Linked DNA regions of Homo sapiens: region 1 is linked to region 2. Evidence: promoter capture Hi-C in 16 types of primary human blood cells and fetal thymus (Javierre and others, 2016). All regions are on one chromosome and are shown on one strand. The core of a region is centred on a gene start or on the middle of the fragment in contact, and the rest is flanking DNA. Distances in the headings are between cores, read along the strand shown. Region 1 holds the start of RNF146 (ring finger protein 146). Region 2 holds the start of STX7 (syntaxin 7).

Evidence for each region. Contacts are between HindIII fragments. The CHiCAGO score rates a contact against its expected background, and 5 or more counts as called.
Region 1: a fragment that was not itself captured here is called in contact with the fragment with the promoter of STX7 in region 2 in 1 of 17 cell types (non-activated CD4 T cells); the score reaches 6.2 in non-activated CD4 T cells.

The regions. Positions count from the first base shown.
Region 1 is chr6:127,262,556-127,267,786 of GRCh38, forward strand. It overlaps RNF146 (ring finger protein 146), which reads left to right and starts at 4,309. Exons shown (of 3, transcript NM_001242850.2): 1 at 4,309-4,370. RefSeq lists silencers at 4,268-4,367, 4,468-4,737 and an enhancer at 4,938-4,997. The HindIII fragment of the contact is 2,811 bases long and covers 426-3,236 here.
Region 2 is chr6:132,511,122-132,516,744 of GRCh38, forward strand. STX7 (syntaxin 7) reads right to left here and starts at 1,995. Exons shown (of 10, transcript NM_003569.3): 1 at 1,886-1,995. RefSeq lists enhancers at 1,243-1,744, 2,102-2,301 and a silencer at 1,462-1,951. The HindIII fragment of the contact is 4,830 bases long and covers 1-3,530 here.

The DNA of each region.
Region 1 (5,231 bases), core at 581-3,080, 5.2 Mb before region 2:
GGAGACATCAGAGCTACTACTGTCAATATAAGACATCTAAAAATTAATAAATACATATTATATACATACAACCAGGTTAGGAAATAAATGCATCGTTGACTTTATAGTCAAACTATAAAGTTTAACTCAGTGACTCTTGGGGCTATTTTCTAGCCATACATTATCCTAATTCAGTTGTAATGTCTGTGGGCAACGCAGGAACATTAAGAACCATTAGAAGAGAAAGCATTGATAATCACAGTAGGTAAAAGAAAAACACAAGCTAAACTGGCTAGTGTACTATTATTTGCAAAGGAGTTCTACTAGAAAATAATATACTGTTTGATTACTGTAAGTAGAACATCAAATGATAGGACAGAAACCAACCTATGTATCAGCTCTGGAAACAAAGTTTTTAATTAAAATAAACAAAGTTTGCTTTCCAAAGCTTCCTCTTGGTTTGATTTCCATTCATCTGCTAGCTATAATGACTGGTACATTCCTGAATCTGGTTTGTTCTGTTTCCAGGCATATGAGAAAGTTGTGTCCACAGCTATCAGATGGTTGCCGGCATGTGAAAAGGGAAGAAATTTAACTTAGAGTTGGTAAGCAAAATAGCCCCAGACAAGCATTCTTATTTGGTCTCAGGACCCTTTGACAGTGCTAATTTATAGAAGACCCCAAAAAACTTTTATGAGCTAATCAATATTTACCAAATTAAAAGTTGAAATTGAGAATGGTTTACAATATATACTAATTCATTTAAAAATGACTCATTGTATTAACATACTTTATTAAAAAAAAAAACACTACATTTTCCAAAACAAAGCTAACTGAATGAAAGAAGAGTGCAGTTTTACTTTTTTTTTTTTTTTACATCGTTTTAATGACTGGTTTAATAGATATAGTCAAATTCTCATATCTGCTTCTATAATCAATCTATTGCTACATCACATACCATGTAGCTTCTGGAAAACTCCACTGTACATTTGAGAGTGCAAGTAAACAAAGCAACTAGAGTCTTAGTATTATTATAAGAACAATTTTCCCTCAGACACTCTGCAAGAGTCAAAGGACCCCTATGGGTCACTAGATAACACTTGGAACACCGCCGCCCTAAACTAGCCACGAGTGGTTTCAACGTACATTCTATTGTAACACATCATTTTCTCATGCATTTTCATGGATGTCTTCAGATATTAAGTAAACAAAAAAAAATGCTTTGATCCTTAAGTAAAACAAATAACATTGGACAATTTTTGAGTGTTGGAAGGATAAATGGAGAAGAGTAGGTGCCTGGAGATGTGTGGTATTCAGCAAAGTATTTTGTAAGTTGTGGGAAATAGACAATAAGCTATAAGCAAACAGGCAACTGGGTAATTCCTAGCAGTCAGCTGCAACTTCTTTACCTTTGATTCAATGAAGCAAAATGGAATCCCAGTGACAGTAACATTATTACAGAAATACATTGAAACTGTTAGGCTCTGATTTATTTAAGCAAATAATTTGAAGTTTTGGTACTTAAAATTACTGGAAACCAGTTACTCTTAATTACTGGAAACCAGCACTCTGACAATGTTGAGAGGTGCTGTCCTGTGTTATTCAAAGATATAAACTTCTATCTTTCTTTCAAGTGGCTGATGGAGGTAGGGTGTATAGTATTCCATGCATTCAATTCTGCTTTTCATATGCAACTACTGAAAAATGAGAAGTTCACTTTTATTCATATATATATACAAATGGGGATATATTCATATATATATATAAATGGAGATATATATATATTCATATATATATATAAATGGGGATATATATACACACTCACATACACAAATGTGGTTTTTGGGGTTTTTTTGAGACGGAGTCTTGCTCTGTTGCAGTGCAGGCTGGAGTGCAGTGACACGATCTCGGGCAACTTCCGCCTCCCAGGTTCAAGCGATTCTCCTGCCTCAGCCTCCCGAGTAGCTGGGATTACAGGCGCGTGCCACCATGCCCAGCTAATTTTTTTGTGTTTTTAGTAGAGACAGGGTTTCACTGTGTTAGCCACGGTGGTCTTGATCTACTGACCTCGTGATCCGCCCACTTCGGCCTCCTAAAGTCCTGGGATTACAGGCGTGAGCTACTGCCCGGCCATGTGTGTATTCATTCATTCATTCATTCATTTACTCATTCATGTAACACATATTTACAGAGAACCTCTTTAAGTGTGTCAGGCACTATTCCTGGCAGTTGAGATACAAAACAGAACACACATTCCTGGCCTCCTGTGTCTTGCGTCCTAATGTGATGAGAAATATGATGAAGATTAGTAAGTAAAATAAATTATCCATTACACTGTGATAAGTATTAAAAAGTAAAGGAGGAAATATGAAATATTGGGAATGGAAACATCATGACTTAAAATATGCTGACAAGTAGAGGGACTGACTGAAGAGTTGGACATCTGAGCACATATGGAGGGAGCATGATGGGGAAGAGTGTTCTAAGCAGAGGAAACCACAACTGCAAAGACTATGAGGTTGGCAGCTTGTGGAGAGCTTTCTGGGAATACAAAGCTGGGTAAACAGTCTGTGGGGTCAAAGAGGTAATGAGGGGAGGATTTTAAAGCCATCGTTAGGACTTTGGTTTTTACTTGTGTTGGGAAGCCACAGGAGACTTTGAGCAAAGGAGTGGTACGATCTCACTTCTTTTTAAGTAGATTTATTTAGGATTCTGTATTAAGGATAGAGTCAAAAGACTAGTTCCTGGTCTACCGTAACACTATAATCCAAACAAGAGATGATGCAGATTGTAGCGGAGGTGGTAAGTAGTTGGATATACTTTGAAGGAAGAGCCAACAGGTTATATGCCAAATGCATATAAGACATAAAAGAGAGGAGTTAAAGGTGGGTTTGAACAAGGAAAGATGCAACCATTTACTGAAATACAAAGACCTTGGGTATGAGTGAGAAGGGGTTGAACTAGCTGACATCTTACAGTCTGTGCCTGGATTCAAATCTCAGCTGTGTGTGTCTCTCTCTCTGTAAAATGGGAATAATAATAGTGCCTACCTCATAGTTTATTATGAGAATTAAGTGGGTATATATGAATAAAGCACTTAGAGCAACACCTGGCACATTGTTAGTTAATATTAGCATTACCTCTTCAAGCTGGAATCTTCGAGTACATATCAAATTTTAGCTATTCTCTGTTCATGGGCTGTGTAGGATAGAGGGACAAAACTGAGTGGCTAATAAGAAGATAAAGATAGAAAACTAAGCTTAAAGTTAAAGGATATACACTTCAATATTTCTACATGTATGGAACAGTATTGCATACACGCGCAAGCATCACTGAACTAGATGCACCCTTCAAGAGATTGGGTTACATATTGATATATATGAATGAGAACCCTGAAATAAACTGATTTCAGAGGAATAACAGAAAACATATACATTTCTATACCTATAAGGACACTGAAAACTTCCAATCCTGAATCAAACAGTTAATGAAATCCCAAAATGCAACACTAATGCAAATGAGAAGACGCTGTCATAGAATGTTGAAATACATACTCTTCTAAAGATAAAAGGTCTGCTCTTCCACCCTCTTCATTTTCCTACAAATTAGGAAAATTTAATCAGTTCTGAAAAAGGAAATGTACATGCTAAAATGGTGAATTACTGCTAGAGTTCTGATGTTTAAAACCACAGGCTTGCGATCAAAATAACCTCTTTAATTTTAGATTATCATGCAGATTAATTTCTTCAGTTTCTCAGGCACTATTCTGTTTTTTTTAAAAAAAGGGTGGGGTTTCAAAAGAAAACTAATACTCATTTTTTCCCCGATTAAATTGCTCAACCATTAAAAAGGAGAACAAATTGGAAAGTCCTACAGTACTCTCTCCCCTCCGTCCCCCCCCTCCCCATTTTTTTTCTTGAAAGGGAACAAGCAGTACTTTTGCTAAGGGATCTTTAAGCCGAAACTCAGCTAGGCGCCCCAGAGCTTCCTCAGGATAGCAAAGCTGGATTTTTGAGCAGCACCACCTGCTGGTCCTACACACGTTTTACTTCCTCCACCCCAAATCTCTTTCTGTTGGAACTGCACTCTTTCAGAGCCTCTGGGCCCTAATACAAAGCAAGCACACTCTAAAGAAGCCAGAAGAATGCAAGCAGCGAAGTCGCCGCTCCCCACAGGCAAGAGAGTACCGGCAGACAGCGGCGCGAGACAGGGGCAGAACGATGAGGCGCCGGAGTTAGCTCGCCGGTGCGGGTGCGGGTGCGCGGCGCGTCGCGGCCCCTCCTCCGCGACGCGCCGGGTGGTCACGTGACGGCCGCGCGCGTTCCCGGCAGCTGCGGGCTCCGAGGCCAGAGAGAAAAGACTGCGAGGTGGCCGCAGCTGTGGCCGGAGAGGTGGGAGTCGGAGCGAGGCCCTCTCGGGGGAGCAGGGTGAACGCCGGCCACTCTAGGATCCTCACTCGGGGAGAGGAGGCATAGCTCGCGGTGTCACCTCCAGCCGCAACGTACTCCGGGTCGGCCTTGCGCTCGGGGCCTGAGAGGGGCGGCGGCGGGGTCAGGGGCCGGTACGTAGATGGACGCCCTTGGGCTGGCGCGGCCCCGGCTGTCCGCGCAGAGGCGGGATGGGACAGTTCAGCCCTTTCCGCCACCCCCGCCTTGGCTGCTGGGGCAGGCAAGACGACCGTGACAGCCCCTGCGCTGCCCGAGGGCGCCGCAGCCCCTGCCCTGGGTGACGGCCGGAGCTGGTCTCGGTCCGGGTGCGAGGGGCGGAGCAGCGGCCATTACTGCGCAGCCTCTTCCGCCTGAGCCCGCTTCGCTGCCTCGGGTGGCAGGCGGGTCCCTCTCCTCCCCTCTGGGCCGTGGTTTTAGGCCTTTACCCGGGGACCTTCTGGCCTCGAGGTGTAGGGGCGGCGATGGTTTTTCGGCGGTAGCCTGCTCCATGTTTTCCCGTGTGGGGTCAGACAGTTTGGGCCTTGGGTCAGATCGAAGCCAGGGCGTACAGTCTGCATTTTTGCCTTTTCCCGGAGTGTCTCTGGCTGCTGCTTTCTCTTCTCTCGCTCTTCCTCCTTTTTTTTCTCCTGCTCAGTGTCTCGGTCTTGCCTAAAACGAAGAGAGCAATCCCTGCACCTTGTCCTAGTGAAGCCCAGCGCTGCATATTCTTAGTTGTTTTTGACGGCTGTTGAAGCATCGGAACAATTAAGAGATCTCAGAATATCCCTTGAGCCTCCAAACCCTCTGCATCTTAAAAGCTGAGGC
Region 2 (5,623 bases), core at 745-3,244:
TGGCTACATCACAAGTGCTTAACAAACATTTGTAGAATGAATGAATGTACCCACCTCCTAAGAACACACACCCAGCGTGAGGGTAAATATTACCATTTCCAAAACATAAAATTCCAGTGCCTTCTTTCAGATACCGAAGGTCCCAGGCTTCTTGCTGCCTTGGGCCTTTGCTGGGTGCCATTTCCTATTTCTAGAAGGCTCTTCCCATGATCTCCACGTGACTGGCTCCTTCTCCCCAGCAAGGCCTCATCACATGCTAGAGAAACCTTTGTGACCACTCTGATATGAAAGTGAGAACTCACCACTGGTCACTCTTTGTCAATCTAACTTACTGCTTCACAATACTCAAAAGTCGAATTAATCACTGTTTATTATTTATCCCTACACCTCTGGAATACAAACAGGAGCTACTTCTGGAATATAAACAGGAGAGAGATGACCTTGTCATCCTGTGTAATCTACAGTGCCTGGTGCATAGTAAATGCTCAAGGAATGTGAGGGTGCTCTGTCTACATAAGTATCCTCTGCAAAAACTACATTAACTGTATTCTTTGGCCTTAGCTCTTTCATCACTGACCTTTTGTACTACTTGGTTTTAGTTCACAATACCGAGGATTGTTTTTTTCATACTTTCACACATGAAACTTGCAAATTAAATGGAATCACAGCAAACTTCACTCAGACTTACTGTGAATATTTTCTATAATTTACTTTTCAATCATCAGCACTTAAAGTTTGGGGTCATAACCAAAATAAGGATTGATTTTGTTATCAAGAGCAACATAAGTAACATATCTGAGGAAAAATTATGATGTTAATCAGTTAATATGGTATCATATTAACCTCTACAGAAACTGTGAAGTTAAGAGCATAATTCTTAACTAGTCACGAGTCTGAGGCCAACTTCTCAAAGTAGCCTATAAGGCCTGTCCACAACACAAAACACAGTTTAACACCGTTATCAGCCTCTGCCCAGGTGTGCTCAGAGAACCTGCAGAAGAAATGTCCACTTCCAACATTATTAAATAGCACAGCATTTCATAATTACTTTCTTTTCTTCCAGATTCTGGGCAAGTTTTATATATTATATATAATTATAGTCAGAATACAACGATCTGAGGTAAACAAAAATTAACGTATACAGATAAGAGCCAAACAAATGTAAGAAATTTGTGGGAAAAAACACACAGCATTTGATCAGAAATGCAACTTTTTTTCTTTGTCTGAATTTAAAGAAAGTAACTAGAAAACAAGGTGGAGGAAATACTAGAAATATTTTATGTACGTTTAAAGGTTTTTATGTAAATTAATTAAAGGTGTATACTCAAAGAATGTCAAAGTATGTTAAAGTCATCAAGCCAAATTAAAAAAACAATACTACGATCCTCTGAATAAATAAACATACACGGTTCGCCTGCTACAGCCATACATTTTTCAGTTCCTCTATATTCGGGAAGTTTAGTGTGTTTTTCAATCCGTGAGTTGAAAAGAGGAAGAGGTCATTTGGTCGTGTCTGGATTCCTGAGCTGGGCCCCAGCCGGCTCTGGCGCCCTCCCCGGGGTGCGCTCCGCCAGCCGTGCGCCTCCGGAGCTCTGCCCAGGGGACCGCGGCGGGTGCGTGGCTGGGTAGGCCCACCTGACCACAGCCGCGCGCACCCGGAATGCGGAACGCGCCGCGCCCTTGCACCCGGCCGGGGGGCGTGGGGAGCCGCAGGCGCTCCGGGAGCTGGGGCAGTCCCGCCCTTCCTAGCCTCCCGAGTGCCTGCTGCAGAGCGCAGGGCGGCGGCCACCTGACCACGCGCACAAACAAGAAGGCGCAGCAGCCGCAGGGGCACCGCGCCTCCCTGTCGCCCGGCCAGGGAGCCCCCTCCCCAGGGTCCTCTTACCTGGACCTCCACGGCTCCCTCCTACACCTCCGACCGCCGTCACCCACCTACCCCGGAGCCCTCAGCTGCAATTCTCAGCTGATGGGCGGTGGCGTGGGGACGCCCAGTGCGCATGCCCGCAGCACAACTCAGGAAGAAGGCGGGGTTCACCCCTTTTCTATTGGCCCGCGGGGCTGAGTGACAGCGGCCCTCACCGCCCCTCCGGTTCCAAGCTAAGGAATGGGGGTATCAGCAAAATTGCAAGGGAGCTGTTCTTTGAAGCCTGACGTAGAGATGGTGAACGCCTCTTAGCCTGCGTGCAAAAAAGGACAGAATGGAGGACAGTTGTCTTCTTTATCTGGTGAAGCCAGCCTTCTTGCACGCGGGTCTTCACCCCGCCCCATTAGCTCTTGCCTGTCTTGTTTGCTAACCTTTAACTGCAGTAGATCGCGTTGACAGCTCTATCGAAAAATGCAAAGGCGAGTACACAATCCTAGCAGGAACAATGAAGGAATAAGTGAAGAGTCATCTCTGGGTGCTCACTTGTAAACAAGTTTTCCTAGTACATACAAGTCATTCTAAGCATTCCTGAAAAGCAGGGCGTAGTTTTCACAGGGTTTAAAACAAGCAGAGACAGTTCCAATGATAAATATGCAAATATATTGTAATTGTTAGATGAAAAGCATCAATTGCTACAAATGAAAGAAAGCCCTCTCCAAATTAATTAGAAGATAGATTGGCTTAGCCTTTGCCTATATTAAGGCAACACTATTTTCTAAAATGATTACCCGGATAGGTGATATCAAAAGTCCAGACGCACTTAGGTGGAAAAAAACAAAACCCAGGATAGAATTCTGATTGGAACTCACCAACACTAAGTGTGGAATGTTGTCTGCTTAAGAGAGATGGACAGAGAAAGAATAACCCTGAAAACGAGTAACCCACAAGATAGGAAATAAACCAGGAAAAGGTAAACTAGAGAATGAAGGAAAAAAGGAGGGAATTGTCCATGATGTCACCTGTTACACAAAGTTCAAGTAAATAAAGAACTGAAAGTAGTGCATTGTACTTGAGAATTAGGAAGTGGCTGGTGAACGTAGGAAGAAACATTTCAATCATTGAAGGAACACATGAAAGGATCTTACATCCATGTGAGGTTTAGTGCACTTTCCAAATACCCATTCATATTACCTTTGATAGAACTCTGGGCTCCGGGGAGGGAAGGTACAATGCACTACAGAAGAACCTGAGATTAAGTGGCCTCTTCAAGTTACCCTGATAGTTACTGACTATGCTGGGCCCAAAACTTAGCTGTCTGAGCCCTCATCTTGGGCTCATTCCAATTCCTTGTTTTAAAATATGTTATGAGTGGATTCCTTCCAGGTCTTTTGAAAACTTAGAATAAGATTTCATCCTTTGGTATTCAAATGGGAAAAAAAAGAATTATAGTCTAGACAAACTTGCAAAATTTAGAAGTATTAAGATAAATGAATTACTAAGAGTTCCTGACACAGTATTCCATCTGTGAATCTGGCTGCTACCAAGTTAAATTCAGCCAGGTGTCTTGAAAGTGGTAGGGCTTTAAAAGTCTCCTAATTTGATGAGTGATAATGTCACATCTCCCAAAATAAATCATTTCCATGTGCAGAAGTTACCTATGACTGAAAGCTTGTAATTTGGATTTTCAGAAATAGTAATTTGCGAGATTTGGGCCTTCTTGGAGAGATTTTGAAGGAAACCAGAAGTTGTTGAGTGGGGAATGTTATCTGCACACTTGTGGTGTCCTTATTAATATAAATACCATAAATACCTCCTATGTAACATCTCTCATGTAGGATGGAGAACTGTCCACTGCTGTATCTCCAGTGTCTGGGATAGCAATTCCAGGGAATAGAAGGAGATAATTGCTGGTTCATTTAATAGTTACTGAACTAAAAATATTTTTTACATGACCACTATGTGATCTTCTGGGAAAGCCAAAGAAGTAAAAGACGCATAAAGGTAAATAGAGCAAACAGGGACTTATTGGTAAGTGAGAAGGACAAGTTGACTTATGAAGGTTTGTTTTTATTTATAATACAGTGGGAAAACCACAACTGGTTTAAAAAATCTATGCTAGATTAAAAGGAAGCTTAAATTAATACTTAATAAACAAGAGTTAGTTCAGTTGTGCCTTATTGTTAAGCACCTTCCATGTCTCTCTACAGTCTACTTGTTTTCTGTTTAAGATCACACAAGTGCCTAGTCATATATCAAGCACAGAATTGATTTTGCCCTAGCTTTTGAACATGGAGGTAATAAACAGATATCCCGTGGAAATCTTACATGGGCCATTATAGCATGATGACCGGTATATTTGTTTCTAATTTTACCTCCTGATGACTGGTATTTTCGTTTCTAATTTTACCTCCTAAGTGTTGTTCATATGTGCCCTCTTCTCTCTGTCCCTCACGGTTGACATCCTGATCCACTGCAATAGCCTCCTTGTTGGATCTTCTATCTCCAGGTCTTCTCAACTTTATTATTGTCAAAGCCACCACTGAATATTTGAAGCTCTAATCTGAGAACTTTGCTCCAGGCTTCATGCCATTTCCATGATTGCAGCATTCCCTGAACTGTATTTCTTAAGAAAAAAAACCAAAATAATTAGATTGGGGAGAGCTGGGGAATTGTGTGGGTTGAAATAAGGAATCAGGGAATTGGTCTACAAAGAAATGTTTGGGAAACATATTATATTGCATTCTTGAAGATTCACAGAGCATATTTGTAAATTAAAGACGCTGAGAAGTGGTTCAGGAAAGAAACAAGTAAAAATTTCTTTTACCCAGTATTTTATGAGTGTATTTGATGGTGGAACTTGCCTGTAAAACTTTTAAATATGCATAATGGAAAACACTGCTCTCAAAATCAAGTCCAAGCCCCCTGCATATACACAGGGTGACCATATATTTAGTTTGCTAGGACAGCCCTAGTTTATGCTTGTTGTCCTGGCCGCCTGTCTTCTGAGCATGCCCTTTCATTCTCAAACGTGCTTCAGTTCAGATGATGCATCATATGGTCCCTATACATATAAGGACCACATGGTCTGATCCTGCCTTTCCAAGCATCAAAATTTATGCTTGGAATATGTTGGCTTAAATAACTCCTCTTTCTCTGTCTGCTCTCCCCTCCATCCCAGCAGCTAGCTCCCCAGTCACAAACCAGGGGTTTTCTTATTTCTGTGCTTCGCTCACGTAGTTCCCATTAGCTAGAAAACATTTTTTCTTCTCCCCCATGTTTTAAACGATTCTTTATTTTGGAATAATTTTAGATTTATAGAAGAGCTGCAAAGATAGTACAGCACTCCTGTATATACCTCACCCAGGTTCCCCTAATGTTTCCTTAATGTTAACATCTTACATAACCATGGTCCACTTGTCAAAACTAAGAAATCAGCATTGGTATAGCAGTACCAACTAAATTAGCTTGTATTCTCCCTGCTCCAGCTCTAGAATCAGTCATTTTACTATTAAGCACTTCTTCTTTTTATTGGAAAAAGCTATTTAGAAATCAAAGGCCAGGACCACCAGGCACAGTAGCATGGCTCACACCTGTAAACCCAGCACTTTGGAAGGCGAAGGCAGGCAGATCATTTGAGCCCAGAAGTTCGAGGCCAGCCTAGGCAATGGGGCAAAACCCTGTTGTGATGGTTAATACTGAGTGTCAACTTGATTGGATTGAAGGATGCAAAGTATTGATCTTGGGTGTGTCTGTGAAGAT